Regions from separate parts of the Homo sapiens genome. Here regions 1, 2, 3, 5, 6 and 7 are each linked to region 4. Evidence: promoter capture Hi-C in human tissues and cell types (Jung and others, 2019). All regions are on one chromosome and are shown on one strand. Each heading gives the region's core, a stretch centred on a gene start or on the middle of the fragment in contact. The rest is flanking DNA. Distances are from core to core; before and after follow the strand shown.

Region 1 (2,700 bases), core at 123-2,622, 1.9 Mb before region 4:
TCCACCGAAAAGGGTTGAGAAGCACCCAGAATCTCTAGATGGGCTAGCCAATAAAGTTCTTTCCTTGTATAAAGCCAGTTCATAACTATTAAGGGAGGTTTATTTGTTTGTTTGTTTTCAAAGGCACAGCTTCCAACAAAAAGTCACAAGTCACATGAAGAAAGAGGAAAACCTCGCCCTATCAAAGAAATTTCCAGAAATCAACCCTAAAGAAAAGCTGTATATAAATCACTTGAAAAAACACTCAATATAACTGTCATCAAGATGCTCAATGACCTCATGAAAAAAAATGCATGGAAAAAATTAGAATATCAACGGAGAGGTAGAAAAAATATTTTTTAAAAACAGAAATTTTAGTGCTGAAAAATATAATAACTGGATTGAAAAAAATACTAGAGTTAAACAGCAAACTTGAACAAACAGAAGAAGAAATGAATTTTAAAAACTGGTCAAAAGAGAAAAGAATGAAAAAGAGTGAAGAATGTCTAAGTGATTTATGAGACATTATCAAGCAGACCAATTTATATACCATAAAATTTTCAGAAAGAGAAGAGAGATAAAGAGAATGAGACATAAAGCTTATTTGCAGAAATAATGACTGGAAACTTCAAATCTAAGAAAGAAATAGGAGATACATATATGAGAGATATATATGATATATATATATGAGAGAGATATATATACTATATATGAGAGAGATATATATGATATATATATGAGAGATATATATATATGAGATATCTATCTATCTATCTACCTATCTATCTATCTATCTGTCTATCATCTATCTATATGTGATATATATCTAGCAGTGGGATTGCTGTATCATATGGTAGGTCTCTTTTCAGTTTTTTTGAGGAACTGGAAACTGGTCTCCACAGTGATTTTACTAGTTTACATTCCTACCAGCAATTTATGAAGTTTACCTTTTTTCCACATCATTTCTAGCATTTGTTATGCTCTGTCTTTTGAGAAAAAATAAATCATTTTAACTGGAGTTAGATTATATCTTATTGAAGCTTTAATTTGTATTTCTCTGATGATTGATGATGTTGAGCACCTTATCATATATCTGTTTGCCATTGTGTATTTTCTTTTGAGGAATGTCTATTCAGATCTTTTGCCTATTTTTTAAAAAAAGATTATTATTTTTCCCATTGAGTTGTTTGAACTTCTTAAATATTATAGCTATTATTCCTGGGTCGGATGGATAGTTTGCAAATATTTTCTCCCATTCTGTGGGTTGTCTCTTTACTTTGATGGTTGTAATTATTTGCTGGACAGAAGCTTTTTAACTTGATGTGATCCCATTTGTTCATTTTTTCTTTGGTTGTCTGTGCTTTTGGAATATTGCTCAAGAAATCTTTGCCCAGACCAATGCACTGGGAAGTTTCCCCAAAGTTTTCTTTTAGTAGATTTATATTGTCATATGTTGAATTAAGCCTTTATTCCAGGGTCTGGTTTCATTCTTCTGCACATATATCCAGTTTTTGCAGGACTATTTATTGAAGAGACTGTCAATACCCCTATGTATGTTCTTGGCACGTTTGTCAAAAATGAGTTCATTGTAGATATATTTTTGGTCTATGTGTGTATTTGTAGGTGAAGTGTTTTTCTTGTTGGCAGTAGATCATTGGGTCTTACTTTTTCATTAATTCAGCCACTCCATGTCTTTTGATTGAAGAGTTTAGTCTGTTTATATTCAGTGTTATTATTGATTAGCAAAGATTTACTACTGGTATTTTGTTATTTGTTTTCCAGTTGATTTGTGGTTTTCTCTTCCTTCCTTCTCTCCTTCCTTCTTGATGTCCTTTTAGTGATGATTATTTTCTCTGATGGTATGTTTTAATTTCTTTCTGTTTATTTTTTGTGTAGTTTTTATAGTTTTTTTTTAATTTGAGGTTACTATGAGGCCTGTAAATAACATCTTATAACCCATTACTTTAAACTAGTGACAACTGAACACCGATTTCAAAAACAAGCTGAGAAAAAAGCAAAGAGAAAACTAATAAAAAGTCTACATTTTAACTTAATCCCCCACTCTTTTTAACCTTTTCCTTTGGTATTTATATTTTATCAAATTGTCTATGTCTTGAAAAGTTGTTGTAGTTATTATTTTGGATAGGTTCATCTTTTAGTCTTTTTTACTCAAAACTTGAGTAGTTTATACACCACAATTACAGCATTATAATATTCTGTGTTTGTCTCTTGCTTATTATTACCAGTGAGTTTTTTTTGTTTTTGTTTTTACCTTCAGATGATTTCTAAATGATTGTCAATGTTCATTTATTTCAGATTGAAGAACTCTGCTTAGCATTTATTGTAGGACAAATCTGGTGTTAGCCCTCAGTTTACTTGTCTAGGAAAGCCTTTACTTCTCCTTCATATTGAAGTATATTTTAATGAAATATGCTGTTCTAGGATAACAGTTTTACTCCATCAGCACTTTAAATATGTCATGACATGCTCTCTTGGCCTGTAAGGTTTTCACTGACAAGTCTGCTGTCAGATATAGTGGAGCTTCTTTGTATGTTATTTGTTTCTTTTCTGTTGCTGCTTTTAGTATTCCTTCTTTATCCTTCATCTTTGGAAGTTTGCTTGTTAAGTGTTTTGAGCTAGTCTTCTTTGGATTAAATCCATTTGGTAATGTATAACCTTCTTATACTTGAGTATTGATAACTTTCCTTAGGTTTGCAAAAT
Region 2 (2,700 bases), core at 70-2,569, 1.4 Mb before region 4:
CTGGCAGAGATCTTAAGGGTTATTCTATTTTACCCATACTACATAGTTATTTAAATGTCTCCATGTGGAACATGTGAGAGGAGTATGTATTTAGAAACAGTGGAATTTTAAAAATGTGTTTATGATGGCAAAAGAAGAAAAATAGGAGGAAACTGTGTTAAATACCACTTAATTTGGCTGTATTGCATTAGTATTCCTGTTTTACACATTTTTGGTCTGTGTTTATTAAGAGATTGAACATTGGATCTGAGATATTAAGCTCCATATTACCTGGAAGTCAAAGATCTACCTCGGTATCACCTGTCTCTATTTTCTGCCAAATTAAGTATTTATTATATGGGAACAGTATTCTACAAGTCTAGATTCATTTGGTTAGAACAAGTTTGGAGTTGAGTAAAAAGGGGTTAAAAGATAGAAAATTCATTTTAAAATAAGTAATTGACCAAAGTAATCAATTGTCATAAGTGATTTTCTTCAAGAAATTGTCCTATAAAACTGGGATCATTTACACTGAGTCTAGCTGGATAATTCTAAATATACATATTTTTCACCAGAAAAATAAATAAATAAATAAAATTAATACAATCTAAAGGTAGCATTATATAACTTAAGATTTACTTTTGGCCAGTCGCGGTGGCTCACGCCTGTAATCCCAGCACTTTGTGAGGGTGAGGCAGGTGGATCACGAGATCAGGAGATGGAGACTATCCTGGCCAACATGGTGAAACCCTGTCTCTACTAAAAATACAAAAATTAGCCAGGCGTGGTGGCGCGGGCCTGTAGTCCCAGCTACTCAGGAGGCTGAGGCAGGGGAATCGCTTGAACCCAGGAGGCAGAGGTTGCAGTGAGCCGAGATCACGCCACTGCACTCCAGCCTGGGCCGACAGAGCAAGACTCTGTCTCAAAAAAACAAAACAAAACAAAACAAAAAAAGGACTTACTTTTGTTTAAAAATTTTAGGTGTTAAACAACATAAATATTATATAAATATCTTTTTTTTTTTTTGAGACAGAGTCTCACTCTGTCACCAGGCTGGAGTGCAGTGGTACAATCTCGGCTCATTGCAGCCTCCACCTCCTGGGTTCAAGCCATTCTCCTGCCTCAGCCTCCAGAGTAGCTGGGACTACAGGCGCCCGCCACCACACCCAGCTAATTTTTGTATTTTTAGTAGGGACGGGGTTTCACCACGTTGGCCAGGAGGTTCTCAAACTCTTGACCTCGTGATCCACCGGCCTCAGCCTCCCAAAGTGCTGGGATTACAGGCGTGAGCCACCGCGCCGGGCCAAATATCTTATTTTTTTAATGAAGTCTTGAATTTTTTTTTTTTTCTAAACCATGTTTTGGTCATTCACTAGTAGAAGTCACATGAGTATTCTATTGGCAAGGACAACTTCATGGATTAAAAACCTGTGCAGTCTTACAGGGCCCTGTGGTTCTGCTAATGCTCTGATACCATCACTTTGAAATGAATAATAAATAATGAACAAGTAGTTGCACATATCTATTTTGCACTAGAACTTGCAAATTAAGTGCCTGGTCTTGGCTGATGGAGTTGGGTGATGCTAGGCAAACATAATTTATTTCTTTAAAACACTCTTGGTTATATAAAACAGGTCTTGATGGTTAGTGTGCTGAGAAAAATACATCATTGCTCTTTTAAAATACTTTGAAAAGGAAGTAATTCAATAGAGATATTTTGGGAACCATTTCAATAATAATATGCAAACAAATTTCTTTAAGAATATTTTAATGAAACAGGATTAGCACAAGGAACTAAGTATTAGATGTGTGGAAAATTTGCAGAGGTGCCTGAATATAGCAGGACTAGTTTCCTAAGACGTTTCTTTACAGACTATTATCAAATCTATTATAAATGCTTGTGATTAGAAAATGACTTAAATATAGATTATCTACTATCTATCATTTTTCTTTCTAACTCAGTGGCTCTCACACCTTTCTACATGCAGTGGCATGCTCAGCAGTGGTTTTGAATTTAAGTATTCTGGTTTATTAAGCCCAGTGTAAGGCCATAGCAATCACTATTAACAAACACCTGTAGGTAGTCCTAAATGAAGCTCATCCATGCATCATGCTTTAAAAAATACTGATCTAGGTATTATAGGTCTGTCTCCATCCATCTGGGCTCCCATAACAAAGTACCGTAAACTGGGTGCCTTATAAACAAACAAAATTTATTTCTTAATATTCTGAAGGTTGGGAAGTCCAAGATTAAGACAGCCTTTGTGTCTGATATGGGCCCACTTTTCAGATAATAAAGGGCACCTTCTATCTATATCCTCACATGTGGAAAGAACAGGGAGTCTCTCTAGGGCTTCTTTTATAAAGACATTAATCCCATTTATGAAGGCTATGTCCCCATGACCTAATAACCTCCCCAAAGCCCACTCTCTAATACCATCATGGGAATTAGGATTTCAATGTAGGAATTTTGGGGGATACATTCATACCACAACAATATTCAATTGGTTTGAAAGTGAAAGTGCATTTTTCACCCATTAAACAACCCTATCACTAGATTCCTTATTAATGAATTGAATGCTTTAGGTATACAATAAATGTTTTTGAAGAAATAAACAATTTCAGATAGGAGTTATGCTTTTGGTTTTATGGAAAAGTTTCCTCCAATGAGTAGAAGATCAAAATCCCTCAGTAAAAGAGCTGGATAGATAATGTAAAGAG
Region 3 (3,026 bases), core at 396-2,895, 1.4 Mb before region 4:
ATTTCATAGAAACACTCCATATAATTTTTCTAAGCATTTTAAGAAATTTAGATTTATGCTGCATCTATAAAAATATCTTTGTTTAGTTCAGACAGGAGATTTTTTAAAAGTACCAACCAGTAGTTACTTAAAAAATAATTTTAGTAAACTACTTTATATTCATAGTCTCACTTACACTGTGAAACTTCAATGAAACAGTGACGAGCATATTTTTTGTAGAGTATACACAAGCTGATAACAAAATTTCTTTCTTCCTTACTCATAATCTTATGTCCTGTTCATTTTTTCCTTTAACTTAGGTGGCAGTAAAAAATGTTTTCCAAATATGGCTATTTACTGAAATAATAGGGTAATTAGTTTGATTAAACTGATGACCAACTCAGGCAAACAAATTCTGTCAACACAATCTGTTTATTAACTTAGGGAATATTCATAAATTAATGCAAATTGTGTCCAAATGCAATAATTTATGTAGATAGATCCCTGGCCAACCATGGAAAGCTAAACAACTTTTCGGAATATGCTTAGAAACCAATTAAAAGATAAATTTGACAAAGAGGAAAGAAAGTCAATCATGGATAAGAATCCGATTCGTGTACATTAATTTCTTTTACGAAAGATGTGCAACTTGATTTGAATCTGAAAACATGACTGACAAGGAAAACAGATGTGGGAAGCAAAATAATAGCCCACCAAAGTTGTCCAATCCTAATCCTCCCACCTGAATCCTGCTAAATGTTATGTCGTGGCAAAGAGACTTTGCTGACGTGATTAGGGTAATGACCTTAACTAACCTGGAGTATCTGGTGGACCCAATCTGATCACTATGAGTCCTTTAGAAGTGGAAGATGGGGCAGGAGAAGACAGTCATATTGATGCCAGGTGAGATGAACTTGACTCATCATTGCTGACCTTAAAGGGGGATGTAGGTCAAGGAATATGGGAAGCTTCTAGAACCTGGAAAAGGCAAGGACACAGAGTGTCCCCTGGAAACTCCAGAAGGAAGTGGAACGTTGCTGACACCTTAGTTTTAGCCCAGTGAAACCTATGTCAAACTCCTGATCTAGAGACTTGTAGAATAATAAGGCACTAACTTTGTAGTAACTTGTTCCAGTAGCAACAGAAAACTAATACTTCAAATAAAACAGCAGTGAGTCAAGAGTGCAAATTCTAAGTTATGCCTTCTTTGTGGCATTATATTCATTATGTAACTACTTTATTTCCATTATAACACTCTAATAAAAGTAACAGCATTCGCACATCCAAGGTTTACCCCTGTAAAAAAATTAACAAAATAAACAAACTAGGGAAACCTATTAATGTAAATAAAGAAAATAAAAACAATCATAAATATAATACATTGCGCAAAATTGCTTTCATGATTAATTTGCTAAAGTTGAAAACATCAATGAAATGGATGATTTTCTAAATAAATATGTGATTTTATATACTACACAGAGAAGTCAGTGAATCAATAACTGACAATAACATTGAGAAACTTATAAAAATGTTTATTAATTTTTACGGAATTATTTTATTTTCTCACAGAAATGAATTAATTGGCATTTTATAAACTGTTCAGGTCATAAGAGATAAGAAGCTACATAAATCATAATATGAAAAAATAGATATGAATCCTATAAATAATTAGCATGGAAATAGAAGCATGAGTTAACAATGATCAGTATACTAATTTTCAAAAAGAAGTATAAAGACAATCAATATAAGCAGACTACTTAAACAATTTATAATATAAGTAAGTTAAATAAATACATTTCATTCTCATACAGTGTGACCAACTTGATTGGATATGCTAGAACACAAATTGGTATTCAAAAATGTTATAAGGAAAATTAACAAAAGATGTTTTATTTTCAAAGTAAATACACTTTAAACAAAATACATTATAATGAATGATGGAATATCAATATGTATTAAAATTATCAACTTGAGGAAGATGTCTGTTATTATCACTATTTGTAAGATTCCTTTTGAAAGTTATGTTTCATGAATTTAGAATAAAACAGAAATAAGAGAGCTACAGTGGAAGAAGACTAAAAGGCCATTATTTTATACAATGTGTATATGCACTAAAATACCAAGGAAATAAATTGAAAAACTTTGGACACAAAGAATAATTCAGTACAATGCCTGATAATAGGAGGTCTATAAATAGGTTTTCTGAGGCAGAAAATAGATTGCTAATATTGCCAAACAGAAAAACACTCAGAAGTCTTATCTATAGGAAAAGGGATGTATCTTTCTTACAATACAACAGAAAAAAATTATATAGAAAGCAATATCATGATGTTTTTTTTTCTTCACATACAGGATTTTTGTTTGTCACTATTAAACATCTGAATTTTAAACAGATTCTTGGACTGGCAGTTCATATCCATAAGCTTTTCAAGAACTACTACCTTCAAGTTTTCCCAGTTCAAACTTTGAATTTTCTAGTGAAGACATCATTGAGAGTATAAATAAATTGGCAAATCTTTTTATGACCTTTTAATGAGTTTTTCAAAGCTGCGTGGGATCCATTTATTAACTGCTTCTTTCAGGAAATCTCTCTGCACCTCTTGGGTGGGAAGCTTCATCATCTTCTTCTGGATTTGGCAGACCTGTTGGTGCTGAGAATAAGAGGTCTTCTGTATCTGATTGTTGTATTTTTTTTTTTTTTTTGTAAAACTAACACAGAATAGACAAATCAAATAGCCATTGGTAGTCTTGACATTGACGTGAACTTCAGGTATGGTCTGCCATTTTTTGACCGTGAAACACATTTTGTCACAAGTAAGATTCATGCCATGGACGTTAAGCAGTTTTTATCCTGAACATCCTCAGTAATTAGCTTGAACTTTCTAAATACAACATCATTCTTCAGATCAGAAAGGCTCACTTCAAAGATAGTACCCTTGAGATCATTAGATAAAATGTAGGTTCCTCGAGTCCTGGTGGCAAGCGTTTTTCTAATATTTCTTATATTGAACGTAGCTAGTGCTTTCATGCCATACCAGTCTTTCTTA
Region 4 (2,918 bases), core at 218-2,717:
CCAGAAGTCCTTATTCGGAGCGCTAAACTCGATTTTACCACATAAAGAGCAATGTAAAAGCTCAGAACAGCCCCATCATGGTGTTGGGGAAACAACTCGGCTTCCCCATGTGAGAAAGCCAGAGAGCTCCGACTTGGTAGTAGCCCAGACCTGTGTTAGGGGTTTTATTTGCAAGTCAATGAACCAAACGGGCGACCAGGCTCGTTGTGCCGCGTTGTGGAAGCAAGGTTATTATTATCGCCCATTGCCCCACTGAACAATTTCACTGAAAAGGAAGAGTCCCAGCCGTGTGTGTGCGCGTGGTGCCATACGGGACGTGCAGCTACGTGCCCACCTCCAGAACGACTTTATTTACAAAGCGATTACCACGTTATCTATTTGTTTTCCTTTTCCAGCAAGAGCAGCCTTACTCAGCCCTCAAATTTCTTAATTACAAACCCGTTTGCTTCTAAATCAACCCCAAACCGTCAGGCAGAGCCCGGAGGGAGGCTCTGCAAGTTTGTACACACCCCCACCTCCCGGATCCAGGGCAACAGCAGAAGCAAGTAACTGTGTATGTGCAAAAAGGTGGATCTGGGGACGAGGATCGCTGAGTTTGTTTACAGAGCAGAGACGCCTCAGCTCGGATGCCAAAGCTACCAAGAGCTGCAAACGCAAACTTAGCAGAAGCACACGTACCCCGGGAGCGGCAGGCGGGCCCGAAAGCGCGGACTGGAATTCCAGGGCGCGGGAGCGGGGGTGGCCGGGCCCTCGAGCGCGCTCCGTCCACCTGCAGCGGCTGCCCCTCCCCGCCCCCAGCTCCTGTCCTTGAAAGGAGTGGAGGAAAAAAATGCATCTACAAGCGGTGATCTAGAGTAGGTCTACCCACTGCCCGTATGAAAACACAAAGGCACAGCCTAGGAAGGCGCGCTCAGGAAAGGGCGCATTATTTGTCCGGGTCTTTAAAACCCAACTCGAGGAAGCACAGCCATTCTTCGCTGCCTGTGGAAGCTTTTGCAAAACCGGGGAGGCACAAGGGCACTCTGGAGGGCGGGGGGCGCTGGGCGAGTCCCCTTTTCCCGTAGAGAGCGGGGCAGATCGCTAGGTGAACCGAGTGAGAAAGCTGGGGGTGGGGTAGATCCAGCCTGAGGGGGGCGGTGAGCTCTCCTCGTGGCTATCCCGGCAGGCTCTACCTTCGGGCGGGGCGGCAGGGGAGGATTTTCCCCCTGCCTCGGGGGTGGCTGAGCCAACCTCGCGTTTCTGGGCCGGGAAGAAACCAGAGTCGGGGGGCGACGGGGCGACTGGGCGGCCCCCGGGCCCCGCAGCCTCTGCAGCACGTGCCGCGGGCGGCGGGGACGCGGCTCCGGGACCCGGTCCAGGGTGTTCGCGGTGTTCCGGAATCCGCGTCTTGGCGCCGCCCGCCCTGGAGGCTCTCGCTCCGCCTTTCCGAAATGCCTATATTAACTGTGGCCAAAGCCCTAAGAAACACAGCTCATTGTTGGCAGCTGCCGGGCGGTCCTGCCGAGCTGTGAGGGCAACGGAGGGGAAATAAAAGGGAACGGCTCCGAATCTGCCCCAGCGGCCGCTGCGAGACCTCGGCGCCGACATCGCGACAGCGAAGCGCTTTGCACGCCAGGAAGGTCCCCTCTATGTGCTGCTGAGCCGGTCCTGGACGCGACGAGCCCGCCCTCGGTCTTCGGAGCAGAAATCGCAAAAACGGAAGGTAAGCGCGACGGGCGAAGCTGGCTGGGGCTCTTGCCAGCCCAGTCCTCCGAGGGCAGGGTTTGCCCGGAGGAAGAGCGTGAGGCGAAGCTGGGGAATAACAACAGGATGTGCAACAACAGGATGAGGAGGGCTGATTTAATGCCTGAAGTTCGCAGCAGGGCTACGGGGCACTTCCTTTATTAGGCCACTTCGGGGAGCAAAGGGGGTGTGGGCTCGGGTCCCCCCGCCCGATCGCAGGGGAAGGGGCTGTTTGTGCAGCGTCCGGCTGTGTTATGAGTGGTAGCTCTTCCGTGGTGGCTAGCCCGGGTGCACAGGCTGTTAGTGGGATCTTGGGGGTGGTGGTTCGCAGCCGACGTGCGCCCGGGAATCCTGGGGGGCAGAGGCGAGCAAAAGTGGGGTGCGCTGTGGTGGGCGACACGTGTGGCGCGGGTCTCATTATCTGCCCTTTTCACTTCCAGGACTGGAAATGGCAGACCATATGATGGCCATGAACCACGGGCGCTTCCCCGACGGCACCAATGGGCTGCACCATCACCCTGCCCACCGCATGGGCATGGGGCAGTTCCCGAGCCCCCATCACCACCAGCAGCAGCAGCCCCAGCACGCCTTCAACGCCCTAATGGGCGAGCACATACACTACGGCGCGGGCAACATGAATGCCACGAGCGGCATCAGGCATGCGATGGGGCCGGGGACTGTGAACGGAGGGCACCCCCCGAGCGCGCTGGCCCCCGCGGCCAGGTTTAACAACTCCCAGTTCATGGGTCCCCCGGTGGCCAGCCAGGGAGGCTCCCTGCCGGCCAGCATGCAGCTGCAGAAGCTCAACAACCAGTATTTCAACCATCACCCCTACCCCCACAACCACTACATGCCGGATTTGCACCCTGCTGCAGGCCACCAGATGAACGGGACAAACCAGCACTTCCGAGATTGCAACCCCAAGCACAGCGGCGGCAGCAGCACCCCCGGCGGCTCGGGCGGCAGCAGCACCCCCGGCGGCTCTGGCAGCAGCTCGGGCGGCGGCGCGGGCAGCAGCAACAGCGGCGGCGGCAGCGGCAGCGGCAACATGCCCGCCTCCGTGGCCCACGTCCCCGCTGCAATGCTGCCGCCCAATGTCATAGACACTGATTTCATCGACGAGGAAGTTCTTATGTCCTTGGTGATAGAAATGGGTTTGGACCGCATCAAGGAGCTGCCCGAACTCTGGCTGGGGC
Region 5 (2,758 bases), core at 43-2,542, 1.9 Mb before region 4:
TGATTTTAGTTTGTTGAGTGTTTCTATTAAGAAATGGTTTTGGATTTTTTTCAAATGCTTATCGTCTATCCATTTAGATGATCATGTGGTTTTTCTTTTTAATACCATTGATATTGTACATTACATTAATTTGCTTTGGAATAAGTAAAACAACTTTAAATTTCTGGAATAAATTCATTTATTTATAATGTTGCATAACACTTTTTATATGTGGTTGGATTCAGTTTGCTTGTATGCTGTCCAGGATTTTTGCATCTGTTTTCATACTTAACAGTCTGTAATTTTCTTGCGATGCCTTTGTTTGGTTTTAGTATCGGGGTCAGGGTATTACTGGCCTTACAAAATAAGGTGGTACTCCCCTCTTGTAATTTTGGAAGAGTTTGAAAAGAATTTTTAATTCTTTAAACTTTTGGTAGAATTCACCAGTGAAGTCATCTGAGGCTGGCATATTCTTGTGTGGATAGATTCAGATTACTAATTCAACTTATTTATTTGTCATAGGCCCACACAAATTATTTTTGTTTTGTTTTATTTTGTTTTGTTTTGTTTTTGAGACAGAGTCTTGCTCTGTCAACCAGGCTGGAGTGCAGTGGTGCTATCTCAGCTCACTGCAACCTCCACTTCCTGGGTTCAAGCGATTCTCCTGCTTCAGTCTCCAGAGTAGCTGGGACAACAGACATGTCCCACCATGCCCGGCTAATTTTTGAATTTTTAGTAGAGACGGGGTTTTACCATGTTGGCTAGGCTGGTCTTGAACTCCTGGTCTCAGGTCATTTGCCCGCCTTGGCCTTCCAAAGTGCTGGTATTGCAGATGTGAGCCACTGCATCCGGCCCAACTTGTATTTTTAATCTGAAATCATTTTTGGTAGTTTGCATCTTTCTGGGAATTTTTCCATTTTAACAAAGTTGTGTAATTAGTTGGCATTCAAATATTCATAGTACTCTTTTACAACATTTTTTAATTTCCTTGAAGTTGGTTATAATGTTGCCTTCCTCATTTCTAATTCTAGTAACTTGAGAATTTTCTCTTCTTAATTGATCTACCTGGATAAGGTTTGTCGATTTGTTAATCTTTTTCTAAAACTCAGTTTTCAATGCAATTGATTTTCTCTATTGTTTTTCTATTATTTATTTCATTAATTCCCTCTCTAACTTTTATTCTATTATGCTTTCTGCTTGCTTTACATAGTTTTCTCTTTTTTCCCCAGTGTCCTCATCATGCAAGTGGAAAATTGATTTCAGATCTTTATTCTTTCTAAATAAAGGTATATACAGTTATTAATCTCCCTGTAATCACTGCTTTAGTTACATACTATATGTTTGAACATGTTGTTCCTTTATTTTCATTAATCTGATAGTAATTTCAAAATTTCCTTTTGGTTTCATCTTCGACTCATTGATTATTTAGGAATATGTGGTTTTATTTTCACATGTTTGTGAGTTTTCCAAATTTCTTTCTCTAATTGATATCTAATTTTATTCAGCTGTGGTTAGAGAAGACACTTCACATCATTTGTAGTTTTTAAAATCTATTGAAGTTTATTTTGGGCCAAGCACATGGTCTACCTTGTGAGTTTTCAACTTTACTGTAGAAAAACTTGTGTTCTGTTGCTCTTAGGTGGCAGGTTTCACAGACATTTATGGTGTTCTAAAGATGACCAGCTGGTTTATAATGTTGTTCAAGTCATTTATTTTCTTGTTAATCTTTACTAGATTTTTTATCCATTATTGAAATTGAGGTATTGAACTTTCCAATTATTGCTGTCAAACTGTGTCTTTACTGCTTTTTTTTTGTTTCATGTATTTTGGCACTCTGTTTTTAATTGCATATATGTTTACAATTGTTATATCCTTGTGGTAGATGTTTTTATTATTATAAAATATTCCTCTTTATCTCTCTAGAAACTTTTTAAAATTCGTTTTTAAGGCTTTTTATCTGATGTCAGTAGAGCCACTATATCTTTCTTGTGATGGCAGTTTGCATGAAATATCTTTTCCAGCTTTCACTTTCACACTATTGCATCTTTGAATCAGAAATATGTCCCTTGTAGACAGAATATGATTGATGCTTATTTTGTGTTGTTTTGCTTTAATCCTGTCTGGCAATTTGCCTTTTCATTGGATTGTTTAATGTATTCCAATTTAATATTACTGTGGATATAATTGGATTTACATCTGCCATTTTACCTTTTGTTCTCTATATGTGGCATGTCATTTTTGTTCCTCTATCCTCCTTTAATATCTTTTTTTGCTTTAAGTGAATATTTTATAATGTAACACTTTAATAATTTTAATTATTTACTCTTTCAGTGTTTACCTTAATGGTTGACCTAGGACTTGCCCCCTATATCTTTTCAGCTACATCTTTATATTCACATTCACTTAATTTCAGTGAAATATGTAAATTTTTCCCCCATATAGCTCTATTCACTTTGGGTATTATTGTTCTACAAATTATATCTATGAATATTATGCATTCAACAATACAGTTATAATTATTACTTTACATGATTTTGTCATTCAAAGAAGAAATAAGTAAGTATAATACATATTTATAGATTTCATTATTTTAATTTTCTTATATATCATTTCTGATTCTCTTCATGTGTTCCTTTACTATGAGTTACTGTCTTCAGTCTACTTGAAGTTCTTTGAGATTTTTAAATGCATAGATTAATATTTTTCAAAAAATTTGAGACATTCCAGCAATTATTTATTTTAATTTCTTTTTCTGATTCTTTATTTCTCTCTACCCACA
Region 6 (3,012 bases), core at 398-2,897, 1.5 Mb before region 4:
AATGTGTTTAAGAACTATATTTTGAAGACTATTTTTTTTCACTCGGTACTTCAGTTTTTTTACTTACATTTACAATGTGCAAAATTTCAGGAATGGCAGGTAAGAGAGATAAGTGACTAAAATAAGATGGATTTGATCACCCTTTCCACATTAAGAAAGACATTGAAATTGCTTCATTTGGGCATGTAAACAGACAAAAAAGCAAACAGGGAAACAACTTTTTTTCATTGTCATCCCTGGACTCCTTTCTGTTTCGGCACAATACATTTTTTTCTTCTTTAATGTTTTTGAGGAGAAGAATCATTATAATCTTAATAGTTCAGTAAATACTTGTTTACTTCCTCAGTTGCTAGACTCTTAGGAGAAAAAGTGATTTTGACAATGCTTAGGAATAAAATAACCGAATACTACTTAAGTGTTTCTGCGGTGCTTTATGGGCTGGCAAATGGTCAGTTACACACACAATGCCACAGCTTTCTTCTGACATAAGCTTTTCATTATTCTCCCTTGCTGTGTGTTGTGTCTCTTCTTTGTTTCTTTCTTTTTTTTTTGAGACGGAGTCTCGCTCTGTCACCCAGACTGGAGTGCAGTGGCTCGATCTCGGCTCACTGCAAGCTCCGCCTCTTGGGTTCACGCCATTCTCCTGCCTCAGCCTCCTGAGTAGGTGGGACTAAAGGCGCCCGCCACCACGCCTGGCTAATTTTTTGTATTTTTAGTAGAGACAGGTTGTCACCGTGTTAGCCAGGATGGTCTCGATCTCCTGACCTCGTGATCCGCCCGCCTCGGCCTCCCAAAGTGCTGGGATTACAGGCGTGAGCCACCGCGCCCGGCCTTGCTGTGTGTCTCATCTAGCATCGTTGGCGGGGCTCACAATAGCGCATCTGATTTTATGCATAGCTTACTATCTTTCAACATGCTGAAGCAGCAGGAGTTGAAAAAAAAAGGAGAGTGTTAATGGAATATAGGAAAAAGAAGGAGGAATCAGCAGAAAGAAAAAGAGAAAGGTACCACCGACGATTCTTTTAGGGCCCCTGGTTCCTTTAATTTTCCTTTTTGTTTCTCAGTGATCTGACATCAAAGACCCAGGCTAGACGTAGGTCTGGCTAAATTTATCTGATGACGTGATCAGTTCCAGCATCCTTTAAGTTTTGTGGAATAAAAAGTAAATAAAAAGATTTGAATCAATCAGATACCTGCTGAAATTAACCAGTCAATTTATTTAAACGGTTCATTGAGCAGTCCGGTGACGTGACAATCACACAGCTAGTGGGAAAATGAAAGAAAAAGAGCGGTCGGCTGGCTAGTTTTTATATATGATGACAATCATTCAACTTGAAGTCTCATTTGTTCTTCCCTTCACAGTTTGCCAGACCTGACTGGTTATTTTCGTAACAGAAAGACATAGACATAGTCTCTGCCAAATCTGCTTCACGATCAAGTTTAGTGAGTCAAGCAAGACTATTCATTGAGCATTCATAAGTGCTATGACAAGGAGCTACAGATTTTAGGAAATATGATTATTCAATAAATTAGACATAGCCACACTCCTCAATCATCATTCCAAAGGAGGATATAAGACAACTGCACATAAATAATTATCAAGAACACTGCAAGGAAGAAATTATAATAGAAGAGAAATTTAGTTGAAATGTTAGTGATCTTATAATCAATTTACAGCTAAATTCAAGAATTCCTCTTAAACTACGTCAGTAATCCTCAAGTGTGTGCATATTTGCAAATCATAAATTTGTAAAGATATTTCTAAATCTAAACATTAAGAGAAGGGGGGATAAAACATTGTGGATATGAAAGATATCCTACCATTGATAAAATATTTGATCTTGTGACACGAACAACACCCACAATACAAAATATACAAGAAATTTTTATTATCCAATAAAATGACAACTGGGTGATGTCAGAAAAAGATAAATTGATATAGAAATATTTGTGGATTGATAACTCAAAAATTCTCAATTGGAAAAATTCTACTATAATACTTGGTTCTTGGAAATGTGGCCATTCAATTAATTAAGCACTGGAAGAATTGCTTTTTGCAAATTATTACTAAGTGATTCATTTTTGCTTCACTTGCCTGCATACCAGGAACATACTACATTCTGGGGTATTCAGTTTTTCTTATACTGAAAGTTTCCTCTCTTTTGATTCTACTTTAAGGTCTCAGTTCTATTCCTAATAAGATGGTAGTGACTACCTCTGTATGTTTACTCATATACCATATTGTATCTAATCTATAGCATACCATATAACTGATGTTATTATGAGGAGTGGAGCCACATCAAGTGATGCTTTAGAAATGTATATGGATTTTTTGGTTGTAAAAGTGTATTGGGAGTAACCGCACACATTTCACTGGGGGATGGCTGGGGTACCAGATGTCCTGCAGTGCATAAGTTCATCATATAACATGAAGAAAAACTTTTCAGCCCCTGCAAGACCTTTTGACCTCTTTTGAACTCCTGTCAGTTATTCATGCAAAGTCGAGTGAGGAGACTCTGTATTATTTGGACCAAGAACCAAATTATCTTTTACTTATAAACAAAATAATTTGTACTGTTTTAATTTAAATTTTCCAGAAAACAACTATAAGGTAAATTTAAAAAAGAGCATACTTTGTTGTTTGAAATTTCACCAAAATAAAATTGCATCATCAATAAGAATGTCACTTTAGTGTTTGAGGGAATAATTCCAAACTGTACTTTTCTGTATTTGTAGTTACTAGGTTTGTATTTATTTTATGTATCACTGTGATCTTCTGACCACTCAACTGTACCTCATATACTTTTATGCTTTTTAAATCTGTAAACGTATCAAGAGATTTTAAAAACTGAAAATGCAGATGGAAACCTGCATTTTATTTCTATTCTCCTTGTTGGGAATGTTTTCTCATAATAGTTCCTAAAAATAACTACTATGGCGTTAATCATTTATAAAATAAGATAATGATCATTTTATATACCCCCTGTACATATTGACTTAATAATGTCTGTA
Region 7 (2,700 bases), core at 201-2,700, 1.5 Mb before region 4:
TAACCAGATTGACCCATAGAAGGCTCAGGTAGAAACCTAGAAGACCGTTCACTAACCACAATGACAAGAAGGCAAGATATCTCAAAGCTCGAAAAAGTCTAGAGAATTTTGTTAAAGGTAACATAGAAAAATAATGATAGAAGAAACCAAGGTTCTTTAACTTTTATTTTTATGCCATTTTATTGTGACACTACATATACTGAATTCTTGTCAACCACTAACATTTATAATACAGATCTTACATCTCACAAGAAAACAGAGAGTGAGCAACCTCCTAGAATGAAAAGAGCTTCATGTGCAAGGCTCTTGAACTCCTATAGAAAGAACTGATATAGTTATTACCATAATTAATATATACATTATATCCAGGAAAGCCTTATGAGTAGTCAGGTATTGGGATTAATAAATAAGGCAAGATTGTGTCCTTAGGTGTCATCAAGAACTGCAGGATACTTCTTCAATTCTTAAAATCTGGAAATTACAGTGAATCAGTTATCTGAAGCTCAAGAAGAAGTTAATTCTGCTTTATCTTAGTGGTTACTACTTTTAGTCAGAATTTTAGACGAGAAAACTGTAATTACAAAGAGGGAAGATGTCACAAGATGAAGTCCAAACCTCAAAAGTGCTGTTAATAATGGTTATTCTTTCACTTATAGTATAATCACTCTCAGCAGATATAATCTTGAAAGTAAAATATTAATGTAAAATAATGGTATTAAAATCTTGTCTGAAATTAGTAGAATTATCTCAGTGGCAATGCCAAAGTTCACCTATTTCATGTATATATTATAACTGTATCAACATAATCAATAAAAGTAAGTGGTCACTAACTAGAGTTCTGAAGGAGTTTCAGGACAGAGGATCAGAACTCACTGAAAGAAAATGGGTCTTTGTAAATACTTGAGCACTTTCAATTGTATCAACACAAACTAATAAGGTTAAATTTTTTCTTTACACTCTGATTCTTTGAATAAACTAAATGAATAGCCAAGAAAATTGGGTTAAAATGAAATTTAAAAGACTATTCTAGGTACTTTTCTATTCTATTTTCATTTATACTGAAATATTTCACGTCAGTTAAGAAACTCTGTTCCTACTTACTAATCATTTTCCACAGAAATTATGTGTTCAAAATTAGAGTTTATAATATTTGTAGAATTGCGTGTTTAATATATTTATTTCAATATCCCCAAACTTAAATTTCTTGGTAACTCAGAAGAAAAAAATCCTTAGAAATGGATGATGACTGAAGACAATACTAGAGAAGGATCTACAACTATTCATGAGTAAGCCTCCAAGATCTCTCTGCAAACAGTTAACTAGTTTTTACATTGTATAGAGGGTGTTTGTGTGTGAATGGAAACCGTCTATGAAGTTTCAAGTACTAGATATACTTAGGAGTGAAGGAGTGGAAATAAAGTAAAGCTTGGGTCAGTAAAAACAACAACAAAAACAACCATAGAGATCAGTCAAATTGAATCATGTAAAGTGACTCACTGTATGGAATAACTATGCCAGGGAAGACTAAGGTGAAAATAATGTTGATTTCATGGTGGAAGTCAGAATAAACATTTTAAGCCTAAATTCCTGATAGAGCTGGAATACCTAGAACTATTGAAGGTAACCAAATAATGTGTAAGAAAAATTTTCTGTGACAAATTATTAGATATTTCTAAGAGATTTAAACATAAAACTAAATTAATCTTAAACTGTCAAGTTTAACACCTGAAATCTTCACTTTGCTAACTTTATTAACATTTAGAGATTAGGGAATTCTTTTATAATTTTCCCTTCCTATTTTTTTCTGCCCATACCACTCCTCCTCCTGACTCTGAGACAGCCAAGTGGGAGGGGGGACCTCACAGAAACTCCAGCCAGCCTGCCCACTGGGGTGGAGCCTGGGGAAGTTCAAGCCCTTTGCAGGGAGGAGGAGCCTGGCCCCTCCTCTTCCTGTGTGGAAGCTGGGATTCCAATGGCAGGCAGGAAATCTTGTAGTAGGTGATCGTGGCCTTCCTTGGGATCCCTGTTTCCCCCTTTTATTCCCTTTTCACCCAGTAAAACCCTGCTTTGCTCACTCTTTAAAGCATCTGTGAGCGTAAATTTTTGTGGCCATGGGATGGACAAGAACCACATGTTTACCTGAAGTCCTGTGACATTTTGGTGTGCAGCATGGGAGCTCCAAAAGTGGTGAGTAAAATGAGGGCTCAAAATCTGTCACTGTTGTTTCTAAGTCTTTACATCCTCGGACTTCTGAGGGTGGGGGAACCATGCCCCCACCCCCGTGGCTCCCGGGCCTTTTCATGGCCTTTTCCTTCCTTTTTTGGGACCCATTGCTAAGCAGCAGTTCCTTGCCCTGCTGGGGCTGGGACGCATGGCCCAAGGGTCCCACACAGCTGGCTGGCTGGTTCCCAACCACAAGCCACCGCAGCCTTCCCCTTTCCTGGCCAAAGGGTTTAGCTTTATCGGACAGTAATTAAGCTTTACCTCTGGTGGAGGAACCAGTTGCATAAGAATAAGAGGTTCTTCCCCAGGCATTTTTAAACTTTTTTTTTCTTCCCCTTTTCCCTTTTCTACCCAACAGCAGTTAACCTTTAAAGGTATTTTTTCCCCTTTTAGAAGATGTTTTTACTAAACCAGGCTCCCCCCACAACTATCCAACTATCACTGTTTGTACACTTTGTAAAGTTTTGGTTGTGAAAA

What was found. The method cuts DNA at HindIII sites, captures the fragments that hold promoters and counts their contacts. A contact is called where the count stands out against the background at its distance.
Region 1: a fragment that was not itself captured here is called in contact with the fragment with the promoter of CITED2 in region 4 in 1 of the 25 tissues and cell types used here (dorsolateral prefrontal cortex).
Region 2: a fragment that was not itself captured here is called in contact with the fragment with the promoter of CITED2 in region 4 in 1 of the 25 tissues and cell types used here (lymphoblastoid cells).
Region 3: a contact is called between a fragment that was not itself captured here and the fragment with the promoter of CITED2 in region 4, in 1 of the 25 tissues and cell types used here (dorsolateral prefrontal cortex).
Region 5: a contact is called between a fragment that was not itself captured here and the fragment with the promoter of CITED2 in region 4, in 1 of the 25 tissues and cell types used here (heart left ventricle).
Region 6: a fragment that was not itself captured here is called in contact with the fragment with the promoter of CITED2 in region 4 in 1 of the 25 tissues and cell types used here (dorsolateral prefrontal cortex).
Region 7: a fragment that was not itself captured here is called in contact with the fragment with the promoter of CITED2 in region 4 in 1 of the 25 tissues and cell types used here (spleen).

The regions. Positions count from the first base shown.
Region 1 is chr6:141,318,671-141,321,370 of GRCh38, reverse strand. No RefSeq gene overlaps it. Among named protein-coding and RNA genes, the nearest start is that of MIR4465, 640 kb to the right of the region's middle. The HindIII fragment of the contact is 4,420 bases long and covers 1-2,700 here.
Region 2 is chr6:140,733,692-140,736,391 of GRCh38, reverse strand. All of the region lies in intron 4 of LOC105378027 (a long non-coding RNA gene), which reads right to left. Among named protein-coding and RNA genes, the nearest start is that of MIR4465, 51 kb to the right of the region's middle. The HindIII fragment of the contact is 6,112 bases long and covers 1-2,700 here.
Region 3 is chr6:140,761,601-140,764,626 of GRCh38, reverse strand. The region is part of intron 5 of LOC105378027 (a long non-coding RNA gene); the gene reads right to left. It also overlaps the pseudogene RPS3AP24. Among named protein-coding and RNA genes, the nearest start is that of MIR4465, 79 kb to the right of the region's middle. The HindIII fragment of the contact is 5,829 bases long and covers 1-3,026 here.
Region 4 is chr6:139,373,197-139,376,114 of GRCh38, reverse strand. CITED2 (Cbp/p300 interacting transactivator with Glu/Asp rich carboxy-terminal domain 2) reads left to right here and starts at 1,467. Exons shown (of 2, transcript NM_006079.5): 1 at 1,467-1,702; 2 at 2,163-2,918. The coding sequence starts at 2,171. RefSeq lists silencers at 619-928, 1,099-1,478, 1,939-2,088, 2,659-2,758 and enhancers at 1,629-1,798, 2,309-2,368. The HindIII fragment of the contact is 4,975 bases long and covers 1-2,918 here.
Region 5 is chr6:141,256,780-141,259,537 of GRCh38, reverse strand. No RefSeq gene overlaps it. Among named protein-coding and RNA genes, the nearest start is that of MIR4465, 570 kb to the right of the region's middle. The HindIII fragment of the contact is 9,295 bases long and covers 1-2,758 here.
Region 6 is chr6:140,827,435-140,830,446 of GRCh38, reverse strand. LOC102723724 (a long non-coding RNA gene) reads left to right here. Exons shown (of 7, transcript XR_428030.5): 3 at 1-3,012. Among named protein-coding and RNA genes, the nearest start is that of MIR4465, 150 kb to the right of the region's middle. The HindIII fragment of the contact is 3,458 bases long and covers 1-3,012 here.
Region 7 is chr6:140,897,675-140,900,374 of GRCh38, reverse strand. LOC102723724 (a long non-coding RNA gene) reads left to right here and starts at 1,951. Exons shown (of 7, transcript XR_428030.5): 1 at 1,951-2,187. LOC124901413 (a long non-coding RNA gene) reads right to left here. Exons shown (of 3, transcript XR_007059792.1): 3 at 2,196-2,700. The HindIII fragment of the contact is 5,294 bases long and covers 1-2,700 here.